2 separate regions of the Homo sapiens genome follow, and region 2 is linked to region 1. The links are contacts of gene promoters, found by promoter capture Hi-C in human tissues and cell types (Jung and others, 2019). All regions are on one chromosome and are shown on one strand. Each heading gives the region's core, a stretch centred on a gene start or on the middle of the fragment in contact. The rest is flanking DNA. Distances are from core to core; before and after follow the strand shown.

The links. The method cuts DNA at HindIII sites, captures the fragments that hold promoters and counts their contacts. A contact is called where the count stands out against the background at its distance.
Region 2: a fragment that was not itself captured here is called in contact with the fragment with the promoter of PAX6 in region 1 in 1 of the 25 tissues and cell types used here (hippocampus).

Annotation. Positions count from the first base shown.
Region 1 is chr11:31,810,072-31,815,344 of GRCh38, forward strand. PAX6 (paired box 6) reads right to left here and starts at 1,251. Exons shown (of 14, transcript NM_001368894.2): 1 at 1,044-1,251; 2 at 757-944. RefSeq lists enhancers at 817-1,386, 1,089-1,146, 2,494-3,462, a promoter at 1,034-1,443 and a silencer at 4,306-4,560. The HindIII fragment of the contact is 12,830 bases long and covers 1-5,273 here.
Region 2 is chr11:31,761,693-31,766,965 of GRCh38, forward strand. The region is part of intron 9 of ELP4 (elongator acetyltransferase complex subunit 4); the gene reads left to right. The region is part of intron 2 of ELP4-AS1 (ELP4 antisense RNA 1); the gene reads right to left. Among named protein-coding and RNA genes, the nearest start is that of ELP4-AS1, 3.6 kb to the right of the region's middle. RefSeq lists enhancers at 1,319-3,617, 1,337-2,043, 2,056-3,617. The HindIII fragment of the contact is 3,665 bases long and covers 197-3,861 here.

The sequences.
Region 1 (5,273 bases), core at 1-2,500:
CCGCTCGGCTCTGAGCTCCCTCGGAGCGCGCGTTCCACCGCCTTGGCCTGGTGGCTTCCTTCCCGGCTCGCGCTAGCTCGCTCTTCCCTCTACCTCCAGCGTGCGGCTGCCTTGCCGACTGACTCCACTCGGGCTGGTGGCGGGCGCGGTGCCCCCCTCGGCGCTCGAGTGCCGGCTGACTCTTCTGCGCCGGAGCCCAGTGCGGCACAAAGCCCGAGGGCCGGCGGGCGGGCGGAGACGCGGCGAGCAGGTTCCCTCGGCGCTCCCTCGGCGAGTCCTCGGAGCGCCCGCTCTCTGCGCGTTCGCTGGGCCTCGGGCTGGACAAAGCAGCCGGCAGCGGTTGCTCTCTGCGGCCGTTCCAGGGCCTTGGGCACCACAGAGCCTCTTCGTCTTTTCCCGCGGGTCGGGAGCATTGGGCGACGCTGGGGCTAGGAGCCGCGGCTGCTGTCGCGCCTGGAGTCTCCCTTCTTCCCGCGAGCTCAGCCCGCGCTGGCGCTGGCGCTGGCGCTGGGGCTGAGCTGGCCGCCCGCCCCGAGCCCTGCGCCGCTCCCGCTCGCCGGCAGTCGCCCTCCGACGCGGGCTTTCGCTGGAAGTAGAAAGTTTGGGCTCCTGCGTGGAAACTTCTCCGGCCCAACTCTCCCGGCGTAGCAGTGGGGGAGGGGACCGGCGAGAGGGGAGGAAGGAAGGGGGGAGGAAGGGGGAGACCTGTCTGAATATTGCAATAAAAATAAAGCGAGAAGAAAGAAGCGGACTCACCTTTATGAGGCATCCTTTCTGGTTGTCACAGCTTCTGTCAAGAGTTTTGTTTGGTTGGGGTTTTTTGTGCTGCTGTTGTTGCTTGAAGACCACAATGGTTTGAAATGACGGTGTTTTAAAGGAGTTGCTGGTGAGAGTTTTCTCCACGGATGTTGCTGGGTTGGTGTGTGAGAGCAATTCTCAGATTCCTGGGAAGGAGACAGAGATTGACAATAAAATGGGCTGTCAGCGGCTGGAGAGTGAGAGATAAAGAGTGTGGGTGAGGGAAGTGGCTGCAGCCAGCACACCTATGCTGATTGGTGATGGCTCAAGTGTGTTAATGTGTGTGTGCCGGCGCCCGGCCTCGCCTCCACCGCTCCTCACTGGCCCATTAGCGAAGCCTGACCTCTGTCATCATCCTCCAGCAAAACACTTCCTCCTGCGCCTGAACCAGAGCGGGAAATGAGGCCGAGCCACGGTTCCCTTTTCAAACCCACTAATCACTCCGCAACATGCAAATGCACCGCTCGCTCTCACACAAAATATTGCTTTATGCAAAGCAGCGCCGGGGCCTCGCGCCAGCCGATTGGATGCTCCCTCTCCCCGCCTGGTGCAATTGGTCCGTTTGTTTGAATATGAATACACTTGTTTTCGGCTCCGCCGGTGGGTCCCGGCTCCTCTCCCCGGCGCAGGGCCCCCGAGCCCGGGCTCTGGCGCTCGCCTGCATCTCCCCGCTCCGCGCACGCCGAGATTCGGCGCGGCCCGCCCTGCTGCCGCGAACTTGAGCGGTCAAGTGAAGGTTTCTGGGTTGGGGGTCGCGCCCCCACTCCCCCTAAGCTGGACTCGGGACTCCCAGTCCTCGGAGGGTGCAAGTTTCTGTGCTGTCCTTTCTTGCCAACTCCAGGACAGCGTGGCCTGCCGCCCCGCCCCCGCCCGCCCCCACCCCATCCCAGCCGGGGCCCCAAGACACAGAGCACAGCGGCGGCCGCACCCCAGCCCACCTGGCCCCTTGGAAGAAGAGGAAAGGGGCGGGAGCGTCACTGGGTCCTGGCAGCTCCATTCCAGCTGCGGAGGCCGCGGCGAAGCCTAGGCCGAGAGGAGGTTGCCGGGCCGAGAACTAAACGAGGCCAGAGGCCTCCCCAGCCCAAGCCTCCAGGGCCTGTCCAAATCCTCCACCCCGCTCTCCCCGCCCTTTCTTCTCTCCTTTCTCCTTTCGGAAGCCGCGGTGCGCAGCGGAGCAGAGGCACAGCTCTGGCTGGAGAGGCCCGAGTAAACACGCCACTTACTTTGTGTACAGAGGGTTCTTGTGAAAAGCCCTGAAGAGTCCTCACCAAACACTCACCAACTTCTCCCACGTGCCATTTGTTGACTAAGTGCGGCTGCTTTTCGCAGCGCCCGAGAGGAGGGGAAGCCAGGGGAGATAAGAGGGGAGGGGGAGTGGAAGCCTGGGTGGGGGGGCGGATGACCAATGCTGGGAGGGATTCTCTCTCTCTCTCTGTGTGTGTGTGTGTGTGTGTGTGTGTGTGTGTGTGTGTCCCACTGGCGATGTCGGTATGTCAGCGTGTGTCGTGTGTGCCACCGGTCATCTGTGTGTGGTGCGTGTGTCTCCGCACCACGACTCCCTCTCCTGGGTCTGCTCAGTCCACGGAGGCAGCTCCCCTTCAGCTGTTGCCAGAAAACCGGGGAGGAAAGTAAGTAAATGGCTTTTCTCTTCTGACCACACACCAGAAGTCCATTTGTTGAATGCCGCACGATTAGGACACACCTCAGTACACTCCAAAGGCGCCCCTCGGAGCCTGCAGTTAAGGTGACAGGAGAGCGAGCGGCTGCCTGGTCCTGCGCTGTCCCGAGCTCTCTCGGCGGCTTCGGGCCACGGAGCCGGGAAGGAGAAGGAAGGCCTGGGCTGCTGTACACACCCCAGGACAGGGCGAGGGGGAATAGGGCTGAAGAGCTGAGGCAGGGAGGCTGAAATGAAGCAGCCGAAGGGTACGCTAGACTCTTCTTGACTTAGGGAAAGTGCTGAAAGTCAGAGCTCATCAATAAAATCTGCGCGACCTGAACTCGCTGCTGACTGGCCGCGTCGCCGCAGCCCCTGGCAGCCGGGACAGTGAGGACGCTGCAAGCCGCCCTGGGCCGCCGGGCCACATGTGGGCCTCACCCTCTCGTTCCTGCCTGGGACCCAGCAGCCCTGCGACCAAGGAGCCCGGGCAGGGCTCCCGGGAAGCAAAGGCCTCCCCGGCCCTAGCCAGAGGTGGGGTCGCATAACCCTCTCCCCTCCCCGGGCTGGGGAGGGCTGCCGGCTCTAACCCTTCCCCGGGAGCTCGCAGCGCCGGGAGGAAACCTGGGTCAGAGGTGAAGGAGGTGGCGCCGGGTGTCCAGGTCCGCGGCCTCCTGGGCGAGGTTTCATTTCGCAGGAGCGCGACTTTCGGAGGATGCCGGCAAGTGGGGCCGCGGCCCTGAGTCCCAGACCAGCGAAAGTCGGCTTTCTCTTTCTCTCTCCTTTTACTTTCCAAGCGAGCATTAAAGAAGCTTGGACTCAAGACTCAAGTCCGCTGTGCATGAGCGAGGGACTTGCGGGGGGGCGGGGGGGGGGGAAGTGATTCTGTCCGAACTGGAGGCGAGTATCATTTTTACAACCTCTCAATTAGCGACCGAGTGGATTAGCACCTTCTTAAGCTTTGCCTCGGAAAGAAGCAGCCGTAATCTTGTTGCTATTTCCCCCCAGGGCACTGGCTCTTTGAATCAGCTCCTTCTCCCACCCCTCCAACCCCCATCTCGCTGCGGAGAAAAGTTTTAACAAAAAATCAGAAAAGGCAAGGAGCGAGGAGTGAATGCCACTGACGTCATTGGGTGGGGAAGGGGGCTCCGGGAAAGACTCCTGGAAACTCCTCCGCACAAACAAAAAACAAAAAGGACTTGGCTGCTTCCCATGTGTCAATATTTGGGGAGGGGAGTTCAACCCCAGAATGAGGCCGAGTTTTCAAAGTTTAAGGAGAGAGGGGTGAGAGTGAGATTTCCTCGTTCTCTCTGGACTGGTCTCAAGGAAGGTGGGGGTGCTGTTCTACCTCGTGGGGAGCCTCACTCCCTCTGCCAAGTACCGGCTCTGGGGGCGAAGCGGCCTAGGGGTGTGGGGGCCGAGACTGAGGTGCGGGCGCGGTTGCCAGAGGTGTGTACAAAACCGAGACAACTCGCAGGTCGCCATTTTAATTGCGGCTACCAACACGCCCGAGGCCCACTTGCTGCCCTCCAAGACGCGGGGGGGCGGCGGGGATTGCGCTTTAGGTTCTGTCTCCTTTCCCCGCCTCCCCACAGGCCCCTGTTCCCCCCTACCCTCCGCCCCCTGTGGCCAGAGGGAGGACCTCTCAGGCCGGCGGGTGCGTTCCCGCGGGGGCCGCCGGGGTCGTCCCACCCGGTAGCGGGGCTGTCTGCGTGGAGGGAGTCCCGCTGGGGGACCGTGGCTCGCCAGAGCCTGCCCAGAGCTTCTAGCCAGTATTGATGCGTCAACATGAGGTGAGGCAAGCATCTCACCCGCACCGATCCCTGGCATTCCCCTGTGCCCACCCCATCAGGCCTTCGGGGAGGCAAAGAAGTGCCCACTTCTGGGGGGAAGTGCCTCCAGCTCCCAGCTTCAGAACCAAGAGCCTCCCATCCGGAGTTCTGACAGTTCTGACACCTCCAAACTCTCTCTTTCCCCGGTCAAGCAGAGGCGCAGCGCCGGCGCGCTGGAAAGGGTGAAGACTGGCATTTTTTGGAGAAGGAAAGTCTTGGCAGACACCTGCGTCACTTTGTAGTGCCCCAAACGTCTCTCTTTTTGCAGACCCTGGGAAGGTGGGATCCCTTGTCCGCGGAGCTGGCAAACGGGTCCAGTGAGCCCTAAAGGCAAAGGCTCCCATCCCGGCCGCCCAGTCCCTGGTGCCTCCCCCACTTCCAGGCCTTTGTCCCTCTCCTTTCTCCAGCAACCTGCCGGTTCCCGCTAACCCGGCAGCCTCGCCGAGCCCAGAGCCTAGAAAAGCCAAGAAGATCCCAGAGCCGCCCCGTGGCACCTTCAGGCTGTGGCCACTGCTCGGCTTGGGGGGAAGCCGCGGTGCCCTCGCCCTTCCTCGCCTCCTGCCAAATGGCCAGTGCTAGGGGCTCCCTGGGTTCAGTCCTCAGTCCTCTTCCGTTCGCTCTGGGAGGCCAGCCTGTCTCTCTCTCTCTCTCTCTCTCTCTCTCTCTCTCTCTCTTTCTCTCTCTGTCTTCTCCCTGCCCACCCCCAAAATACCTTTAAAATAACATTGTCCAGTGGAGTCTCCCAGCAAAGGGATTCCTAGCAGCCCAGCGGGTCAGACTCCCAAGGCTTTGCCTCCCAGTCCCTCCATGCTGTTGTCCAGATAGGAGTTAGGTTTAAAACTCCTGACATGTAGGACAACTGAAATCAGCGGCACTCTCCGATTTTTGCAAATAGGGTTCCTAGAAAAGTTTGCTTTCCATTTCATCACCCTGTGACGATCCCCCCATCTCTCTTTTCCCTGTAACCTCTGCCCCCAAGAGGCAAGAGT
Region 2 (5,273 bases), core at 779-3,278, 48 kb before region 1:
ATGATTTATTAAGCTAAACAAATAAGAAGGAGTATCTTAGTAAATAAGGACAGTTGGCATGTATGTAGGTGTGGTCTTGGGACTTTGCCACCCAGACCAGGGATTTGGGCTGTGGGGAAGGATGATGACCATCTGCTCCAAGTGACTCCTACTGGCTGATACACAGAGCTCAGTTGGCATCAGTCTCAGAAGAGACTGCCAGCCTCCCAATCAGAAAATAAGCAAAACAATGGCATTGCTGTCAAGCACAGAAATGAAGTTTAAGATTTAAGTAATAAGTGGCGACTCAGAAAGGGTCAGAAACCTTAGAGTGTAATCCAGACAGATATAAGTTGGCTTGATTGTGAAATGGACCATCCTGACAGTTAATGGAGGATACTTGAAAAGCTAGGCAGAAATGATCTACAGTGACCATGGTAAGCAGACTGAAACTATTACAGCTCACGAGATATTTAGCACAACCTTTAACATCTAAACCAGACACAAAGACAATATAACACTACAAAACAGAAAAAAACTTGACCTATGCACAAATTAGATTATATGAAAATAATGTAAATATCACTGAGATTGAGGCAAAGTAGTAAAAAGATAACTTTTGCCTACCTTCTTGTCTTCACAACAAAGTTTATTTAAATGATTTTTTCCTTAACAGCCTTCAAAAGCAGGACCAGTGAACTTTTTATTACCTTACAGAAATCTACATTTTATTCGAAAGAACTTGAAATTAAATGATAGAGTTTAAAAAATGTAAATTTTTAAATTTTTAAAAAATAACCTTTAGACTTCAAAAATACTTATTAAAATAAAGACTTTCTACAATAAGAATCTTTTCACTTTCTCTTTTTAAGTCAGAAGTAATTTTGGTTTTATATTTTGCATTTTGATAGACAAATGTATGTTCTTCCTGTAGATTACAGTCATTTTTAAGTATATTTAGCTATGATTATTTACAGCTCATGTATCATATGTATGATTAATTTTAAATAATTAACTAGAAGGCATTCTTAGCTAAAATATAGATTTTTTTATATATTAATTTGCCATATAGTTTATTCAGCTCTAATTTCTTATGTCTTAAGATATATTTTTTAAACAGCTATTTAGCTCTAAAAGTACTTCAGATAAGTGTGCTTATTGGAATTTTTTATAGAAAAATAATTTTTTTCAGTGTGCAATATAATATAAATAATGATCAACCTGATACAGATTTTATACCTTGAATATTATATATAGGAAAGTATTAAATATAGAAATGAGCAGTTTTCCCTATAGCTATTTATGGGCTATTATTGAATAAAAACAAAAGTACTTTAAATAATAACAAAAGATAAGTAAGCTCAGATGTAAACTTTTCTACTCAAGATTTGGCTTCTTTAAATGCAATTCTGTATAATGAGCAAAAAAAAAAAGCATATCATTTAAATTAGATGACCATTTTAAAATTAACATGTCACTGTTAAAATATCTGTGATGAAAAACAAATATCCTTTAAGGATAGCCATTGAAAATATGCATTCTTAAAAATATCCAAATATAAGCCCTTTCCTGTCGCTTGATTTGTTGCAAATATTTAGGATAGATGAGTTCACTGTGCTTTTAAAAAGATACACAATTGAGAAAGAAAATGAGATGTTAGCTTTTTCCCCCTCTAATCCTTCTCCATCCCTTCAAAATTACTGTTGACTAACAAGTTGTGTCTCTTTTCTCTGAGGCAGTGGGTGCAAGACAACTACTTGAGACAAGAGAGGAACATTTATCCTCCAGGCTTCTCATACTTACTCAAGCAGAAAGACTCTGCATGGGGAGAAGGTTCTTTACAGCATTCCACATTTTTAATGAGCTTCCTTGCAAAGGGTATGGGCTTTCCCTTTTTTCAGCTAAAGCTTCTACTGAAAGAGGGATTTGTTCTCATTAAGAAGGGAATGTTAAGGGATGATAGTTTAAGGTGTTCACATACTGCTATTTAATCACCTTTTTACCAAAGATTAAACTTTACAGCTAAAACTGCAACCAACATGAGTACTTTACTAAGTAGAATTTGGTGTTCAGAATGGTACCTTTTTTTTTTAAGCCTTTCTCTAACTTGTTCTCTGTCTGACTTATTTTAATGTTATATGACATCTAAAGAAATGAGTTTTCAATGTCATTTTCCAAGTCTTTTGTGTAGGTGTGCACAGGTAGCCCATGGGGCTTCATTTATTTTTTTTTTAAATTGGAAGATTGCATTATTATTTTCATAAGTCATGGCTATTCTTTAAACCGAAAATCTATAGTTATTGATAATAAGCTTTATTGTCAGAAATGAAGTTTCTAATTTTTTTAAAGTTGTAAGTATTTTCTTATATCTCTTTCAAGGAATCCCAGTTTATATTTATGTTCACTGCAGCTAAAACAAGGAAGCTGCAGTGGGTGTCCAGTCATGTCATACTTTAGGTAAAACCCGAGCATCTTGGTGTGCGATACAATATTGCGATAATGTCTATTTTATACCTAGGTGGACAAACACAATTAAAGGCTGGTTACTTATTGTCCTGACACCGTTTGAAATAGTCTCAGAGTACATCGTTTGTGCCAAACTAGCTGTGTGTGCTTGAAGACAACCTTTGAAAGTCTCTGCCGACCAGTATAATCTAATGATTTCACTTACACCTCCCTTATTTAACACTGTCATGGAAAGTAAGGAATAGGCCATTCATAATTTACATGTCATTTGCTGCTTCATATTGTGTGAAATTTAATTACACAGCTTAAATCGTAGCCAGTGCTCATTTGTCTCAGGGAGCACTCACAATAAGGCATTGATGTGAGTCCAGCATTCACCCAGAGTCCGCCTTTTATCAAATCACCTTCTGGTGCGGCCATCAAGGCCGCACAGTTGTTCTTTTCACTCTTTTGTAAGGAAAATGAGAGAATTTGACCCCCATTTTCATTTAAAAATCCAGGGCATCATATAAAAGATGCTGCTTGAAAAGATTTTATTCAGTGCTTTACCACAATGGAATATACAGATAAATTTTCTGAAGGTGATTACAGAGCCTGGTTGGGTCCTCCCAGAGCTGTAATAGTTTTGTAGAACTTCCATTGAATCAAGAGAAAAATGAAATACTAAAACTCCCCACAGGTGTCGGTTTTATTATTTTTTCAACAAACACTTCTGGTAGAGGGGAACCCCTGATCCACAGCTACAAATTACTAATCATGTGTATTATTCAACGTTTTAGTCCATTTCTGAAACTTTTCCTTTAAATCAAAAGGACCGCTCTTTAGTAATTGCAGGCTGCTTGGCCTCCTGATGGGAGACTCATATAACCGTAATCCCCCTGACGACTGCTACTGGCACCCATCCCACTCCTCAGCAAAACACTAAGACTGAATTAAGAGGATGAAGAGGATAATTATTAGATTCAGGAACAGTTTCCCAGCAAAATCTGTTTTTTATTCATCACCATGAAAAACTGTTTATGGTTTTGGAAATACTCTGTTATGGTAATGGGTATGAAGCTGTTAGAAGAAGTGACCTTATTCTAAAATTTAACTGTTAAAAGTTTTTTAACAAAAAAAAATTGTATACAGTACAACCAAAAGCATACACTTTGGTGCTGCATTGCTCCTTATGATGCCTCTGCAATATCATCGTGAATGTTAGTGATATTTACAAACACTGATAGATGATATCAGTTCATATTTGCTCTGCCTTAAAATGCCCTAATGCAACCTAACCAAGTAGACATTTTTTATAAGTTAAACAGACTCTTTTTAATATTTGGATACATTCTAATCAATATTTTCTATCAGATTAACAGGGCAACTACCAAAATCTTAAGCTGGATATAATATGAGTAATCATTGACTTTACTTTTATTATAAGTAGCATCTTTATCAAAGAGATGAGTTGTATTTGTAAAAATTTGTAAAATTACAACGAAAGAATTTAAGACTTCCTATCATATAAATAAATAGAGTGCAACAATAGATCCCCTGGACAATTAAGATCCATTGCTCATTTTCTGGAAATACTATTTAAGTAGTATATATTTTAACTAAATATTAATCTGCATAATATTTTAGAGCATTAGTGATACCTCATAAATTAGTGTTACTTAAAAACTGTTCTTAGCCTGATTTATTTAAAAACATTTATTAAGAAATAACATGTAGTGGGCTTTTTGTTTGTTTTTGGCTACCATCATTAATATCTGAAATAATTTATTACTCATTTCCAAGAGAATTAACTCCTAATAAAAGACTTATTTCTCTTTTTACAAAAAGTTAATATTCTTTTTTCCCATTAATACATTGGGAATAAATATGAAAAGCACATACAGAGTAGTTTATAAACTGTGACTGTTCATCTTCTGTGTGGTGCTTCATCTATTTTTTAAAGTCTTTAATTTAGAAAAAAATTGTTAGGGAATCAAAAATGTGTACATTAATATTTTAAATACAGATTAAACCCAGTTCTTATGCATGTGAACAGTTTGCTTTGCATTGTATTTTATATAATAAACCAACCTAAAGAGATATTTTATATCTGAATAAAAAAGAAAACAATAACCACGGAAATATAACGGCAATAAGTATATTTTTCTGATAAAGTAATAGTAACTAAAACCGGTCCTTATTGCAGTTCTAGTTGTATATCTACCTGTTAACATGTTTGCCATGTAGTACCTTTATTAGTGTAAGATAAATACATATGGTTTCAGGGTGTTGGAATATAGTGTAAGTATTACTGAGTCCCTTGAATTGACATAAGTTTGGAAATGGTTTTGGCTAGTTTAGAAGCAAGAAACATGTTCCCATTTTTATTTTTTTCAGAACTTTTCAGATGATGTTTTGACTCATGATTTTACAACATGATCAATGATCATTTTGTGTGAAATATTAATATTTAGTTACAGAGAAATAAATTGTAAGATATTTAAGATAGACTGTTGAAATATACAAGACAGGTAATAGATTTAGGATGCAAACACCTATAGATACTAGTGTTACCTGAAAATAAATATATAATGAAAATAAATATATAATTGAAGATGCCTGTTATAATTTTTCATTTAGAAACAGAACTACTAAGTGTTTGTAATATACTCTGTAATTTACAAATATTTGATTGGGTAAATGTTTGATGTATTTGCTTAAACTGATTTTAGAGCAACTAATATCCCTTTAGCACATAAGCTATCTTAATGAAAAACAGAAGAAAAAATGCCACTACTTGATATATTTCTAAAGGAAAAACTCATTTTTTCATCATTTATTAAATAGCA